Regions from separate parts of the Homo sapiens genome. Here region 1 is linked to region 2. The links are contacts of gene promoters, found by promoter capture Hi-C in blood cells and fetal thymus (Javierre and others, 2016). All regions are on one chromosome and are shown on one strand. The core of a region is centred on a gene start or on the middle of the fragment in contact, and the rest is flanking DNA. Distances in the headings are between cores, read along the strand shown. Region 1 has its middle 56 kb from the start of MIR4422. Region 2 holds the start of PRKAA2 (protein kinase AMP-activated catalytic subunit alpha 2).

What was found. Contacts are between HindIII fragments. The CHiCAGO score rates a contact against its expected background, and 5 or more counts as called.
Region 1: a contact is called between a fragment that was not itself captured here and the fragment with the promoter of PRKAA2 in region 2, in 1 of 17 cell types (fetal thymus). The highest score is 5.3, in fetal thymus.

Annotation. Positions count from the first base shown.
Region 1 is chr1:55,280,311-55,283,043 of GRCh38, forward strand. No RefSeq gene overlaps it. Among named protein-coding and RNA genes, the nearest start is that of MIR4422, 56 kb to the left of the region's middle. The HindIII fragment of the contact is 1,705 bases long and covers 555-2,259 here.
Region 2 is chr1:56,643,909-56,646,652 of GRCh38, forward strand. It overlaps PRKAA2 (protein kinase AMP-activated catalytic subunit alpha 2), which reads left to right and starts at 1,406. Exons shown (of 9, transcript NM_006252.4): 1 at 1,406-1,573. The coding sequence starts at 1,480. It overlaps LOC101929935 (a long non-coding RNA gene), which reads right to left and starts at 1,410. Exons shown (of 3, transcript NR_135111.1): 1 at 1,310-1,410. The HindIII fragment of the contact is 10,307 bases long and covers 1-2,744 here.

The DNA of each region.
Region 1 (2,733 bases), core at 157-2,656, 1.4 Mb before region 2:
ACGAAAGCCAACACAGGCTGAAAGCTAGGCCTCTTGTGCCAGTTAGCCACATTATGAATGCAAAGGAAAATTTATTGAAGGAAATTAAAAGTTCTGTGCCAGTGAATACATGAGTGATAAGAAAGCAAAAAAAAAAAAAAAAAAAAAGATAAACTTATTGCTGATATGGAAAAAGTTTTAGTGGTTTCAATAGAAGATCAAACCAGCCACAATATTCCCTTAAGCCAAAGCTTAATCCAGAGCAAGACCCTAACTCTCTTCCATTCTATGGAAGCTGAGAGAGGCAAGAAAGCTGCAGAAGAAAAGTTCAAAGCTATCAGAGGTTGCTTCATGAGGCTTAAGGAAAGAAGTCGTCTCCATAACATCAAAGTCGAAGGTGAAGCAGCAAGTGCTGATGGAGAAGTTGCAGCAAGTTATCCAGAAGATCTAGCTAAGATAATTGATGAAAGTGGCTACATCACACAACATGTTTTTAATGTGGACAAAATAGCCTTCTATTGGAAGAAGATACCATCTTTCATAGCTATACAGAAGAAGTCAATGCCTGGCTTCAAAGCTTCAAAGGGCAGCTGACTCTCGTTAGGGGCTAGTGCAGATGGTGACTCATTCTAAAGATCCTAGGCACCTTAAACATTCTGCTAAATCTGCAGTGCCTGTGCTTTGTACATGGAATAACAAAGCCTGGATGACAGCACATCTGTTAACGGCATGTTTTACTGAATATTTTAAGCCAACTTAGACCTACTACTCTGAAACAAAAACTCCTTTCAAAATATTACTGCTCATTCACAGTGCACTTGATCACCCAAGAGCTCTGATGAAGATGTACACAGAGATGAATATTGTTTTCATGCCTGCTAACACAAACACCCATTCTGCAGACCATGGATCAAGAAGTAATTTCAACTTTCAAGCCTTATTATTTAAGACATACGGATCAAGAAGTAATTTCAACTTTCAAGTCTTATTATTTAAGACATACATTTCATGAGGCTATAGATAGCTTTTTTTTTTCCTAATGGATCTGAGCAAAGTAAATAGAGAAACTTCCGGAAAGGATTCACCATTTTAGACGTCATTATGAACATTTGTGACTCATAGGAAGAGGTCAAAATATCAACCTTAACAGGAGTTTAGAAGAAGTTGAATCCAACCCTCATGGATGACTTTGAGGGGTTGAAGACTTCAGTGGATGAAGGAACTGCTGGTGTGGTGGAAATAACAAGAGAGCTAGAGGTGGAGCCTGAAGATGTGACTGAATTGCTGCAATCTCATGATAAAACTTGCAAGGATGAGGACTTACTTTTCTTATGGATAAGCAAAGAAAGATGTTTCTTGAGATGGAATCTACTCCTGGTAAAGATGCTGTGAACATTGTTTTAATGACAACAAAGGATCTACACTATTACATAAACTTAGTTGATAAAGCAGTGGCAGGGTTTGAGAGGACTGACTCTATTTTTTTTTTTTTTGAAAGACAGGGTCTGGAATTCCTGTGCTCAAGAGATCCTCCCACCTCAACCTCCCATGTAGCTGGGATTACATTTGCGTGCCACCATACCTGGCTGATGCCAATTTTGAAGGAAGTTTCCCTGTGGGTAAAGTACTATCAAACAGCATCATATGCAACAGAGAGGTCTTTTGTGAAAGGAAGAGTCGATCAATGTGGCAAACTTCATTGTTGTCTTATTTTAAGAAACTGCCCCAGCCACCCCAAGAACCTCCATCAGCAAAAAGATTACAAGTCACTAAAGGCTCCCATGATCATTAACATTTTTTAGCAATGAAATATTTTTAAATTAAGGTGTGTACATTGTTGTAGACATAATACTATTGCACACGTACTAGATTATAGTAACATAATTTTATATGCCCTGGGAAACTAAAAAATTCATGTGACTCACTTTATTGTGATATTCACTTTATTGCAGTGGCCTGGACCTGAACCTGCAATATCTCCAAGAGATGTCTGTAATTGAAGTGACAGTAAGAAGAGGGAAGGAATGCCACTTTCCTGTGTTGAGCTTGTTCTTATAGGGTCTCTTGTTCTTGTACAAAGCTGTGAGTCTAACCCATGCTGCACTGAGGCAGGATAGTATAGTGAGATGGAGACTCACAGATCTGGGTTCAAATTCTGGTTTTGCTACATATATATCTGCATGGGTTGGGGCAAATCACTTAAACTCTCCAAGGCTGATTCCCTGCAGGCTCCCACCCCTACCTCTTATAGAATGAAAAAGTGACACCAACCACCTAAGAAGCTTGGAGTAGTCAGTAAATGAGATTGTAGATGTATGCATGTGCGTTTGTGCATGTTTGTATTTATATAAGTGCTTAGTATAGTGCCTGGCACAAAGCTCAATAAACAGTAGCTATTGTTACTGAATATAATCAAGTGTTTCTTAATTTTCACATGTTATATGGACTTTTAGATTAATTCCACTGTCATCAGAGAACATATTGCAGATAGTTTGACAAGTGCTGAAACAAGGGAAATACAGGTTAATATGGGTGGAAATAACAGGAACACCTGACATTTAGGCAGGCTGCCTGCAGAATGATTGTAAGCATAAAACTGAAGGATAAGTGGGATATTCTGCCAGAGAAGGTGTGTAGGTAGGCGTGTGTGTGTTGGCCAGAGTAGTGGCTGAAGGACTTCAGCCTCATGGGGGAGGCCCATATGTGTAATTTAGTAGGTTCAGTGTATTTTAGTAAATGTTATGATGAAGGGAA
Region 2 (2,744 bases), core at 156-2,655:
TTACTTATCCCCAAACAGAATTTTTTTTTACTGTTTTAAAATTTTTTATTTCATTGGCAAATAAAAATTGTATATATTTAGTATGTATATGTTTTGAAATATATTGATTGTGGAATGGCTATAAGTCAAGCTAATTAACAAACATATTGTATACGAATCTTTTTGTGTGTGTGGTGAGAAGCAAATAAACTTTAATCACTGAAAGACAGAACAACATTAAAGAATGAGACAACATTAAAGGAAGGAAGGAAGGAGGGAAGGAAGGGCGGGAGAGAAGGAAGAGAGGCAGAGATAATCGCTTTATTACCTAATTCTTTGCCAGTCTTTTTTCTTTTTTTTTGTGGGGGAGGGTGGGGAGGTCAGTCTTTGAACACGCTGCCTAGGCATCATGCTTCTAATTTCCTCTTACCACTCTTTTCACTTCTATATCACATTTATTCTTCCTTTAATATGTGACCTTATACTGGCCTCGCCCTTCACAATTCCTCTGTCGCTTACGTATTTTACTTTCTGTGGGCAGAACATTGTTTCCCTTTCCACGTCTTTCCCATTTCCTTCTTGTACAGCTGTATCACATTTCGGTACTATATGTTTATATAAGCGCGTGGTAAAACTACATATTTATATAAGCATGTGCTAAAAAACACTCGAGCAAATACCGTGACTGAGATTTTTTGGAAAACTGTGGGCAAATTAGTTAAAATTGAGAGCTCTGGCGGAGAGGGTCTCTTCCATCTATAGGACAAAATAATTGGGAATTACAGAATAAGTAGAGGAGGACAATTCAAGAGAGCACAGAGCTGCGTGCATTCTCCCTGTGCCGCGACCTGTATCCAAAAGCCTCAGACGAGACTTGAGGAGCTTCCTAGAGGCTCTCCTGCCACTGCCCCTTTGGCCAGGGCCCTTCCCGCAGTCTCCCCTCCCGATTCTTCCCTTTTACAGCCCCTCGCTCCCGACATGCGAGGCCCGTCTCTTCTTCCAGTTTGACTTCCAAGTCTTTCCATTCCCTAGGATCGGGCCCCAGTCTCACCCCCTATTTTCACCCCCTTCGGTTTTCCTCAGAAAGGGCCTCCTGCCTCCCTCGGCACCCTCGCCTACCCCCCTCGCAGCACCTGTCGCCTCCGCCCCTCACTCGGACCCCGCGCATCTGGCGCAGCCCCTCCCGCACTCCCGCCCAGCGCCCCGCGTCCCCGGCCCCCGCTGTCGCTGCTTCGGGTTCCGCCGCAGGAGCCTCTCACTCCCGGGAGCGGGCGCCTCGCGCTCCCTCCCTCGGCCCCGCCCCGCCCGCCGCTCGCCCGTTGCTTCCCACCTGGGCCCGAAGCGCCCAGCGCCCTCTCCCGGGACCCCGCGCCCGCCCCGCGCCCCTCGCGGCTCGGGGTCCGCCCCCTCGCCCGCAGGGCCCGCTGCACTGTGGGTAGGCGGCGGCGGCGGCGGCTACGCGGAGCGGCAGGCGGTGGAGCGAGGCCGCGCGCGCCGAAGATGGCTGAGAAGCAGAAGCACGACGGGCGGGTGAAGATCGGACACTACGTGCTGGGCGACACGCTGGGCGTCGGCACCTTCGGCAAAGTGAAGAGTTGAGTACGCGCTCCGGACCGCTGTGCGGGGCTGCCTGACTTGCGGGAGGCCGAGGGGAGAGGCGGGAGCCCCGGGCCTCCGGCGGGCGCGGGGCTCGGCGGCAGGTGGAGCGGTCCCGGGTCGCGCGGAGCTGGGGCCCCGGGAGGGTGGCGCGCACCGCCTCGCCTGGCACCGGCGCCCGGGCCCCACAGGGTCCAGGGAAGAGGGCGGGGGTGTGAGCTGAGGATGGGCGTCCTGGGTTCCAGGTTCCGCGCCCATCTGCCTTTCTGGAGGTCGGAGCAAGGCACTTCTGTGTTCTCTGGACCTCAGTGTCCTCCTCTGCAAAATCGGGAGAACTGGACTCGTTCTGCGAGGCGCCTTCCAGCTCTGAGCCTGTAGGCTTAGGGCGGGGATCATCCACGCTACTGAGGACTGAGGCGCCGTTTCGTGCCGGGTGCCCTGTTAGGTGCTTTACATGGAATCTCATTGAATCCTCACAGTGACTTGGTCAACATGTTGTCCTCACCCTAAAGGTGAGAAAACTAGGACCCCTAGAGATGTAGTAACAAGCCCAAGGTCACACAGAAATGGTCAGTACCAGAGTGAAGTCTAAGATGTCCTCCAATTCTGGTCTTGCTGGGAGGTCCCTGCCATCCCCAGATTCCTTCACGTTCCAGGACTCTCGGTTGTTGGGGGTGACTGTTTGGGGGATGCTCCAGGGGCCAGAGGTTGTGAGTCTTTCTTCCTGGGGTGTTGTTTAACGCTGGAATGCAGCTGGATTGGGTCAGAGGTTAATTAAAACAGAGAGGTCTGAAGGTGTTTGTGTTTGTAAAATGGCTATGGGAAGACTTCTAGGGTAAGGGAGAGAAAAAGTTTCCTTGGTGTTTGGAGGATTTGAGGCTGAGGAGGTCAGGACTGCTAAGGCATATTCTGCTAAGGTCTGTCTTCATGGAGATAGGATCCCCTTTTGAATGTAGAAAAACAGGCTGCTTTTGAAATGTTATACTTTATTCGAGTTAAGTAACTAGTAAGAATAGTTAAGTATGGAACTTTCATTTGTTTTCTTTTTTGTTAATTAGTCACATGTGATTTAATTAACCTGCCTTCTCTCCAGAATAGAGACAGTTGTTTATTAAAAATACTTTGTTGCAAATCCAGAATTATAAGTGAAATATTGACCTTTATTTTTT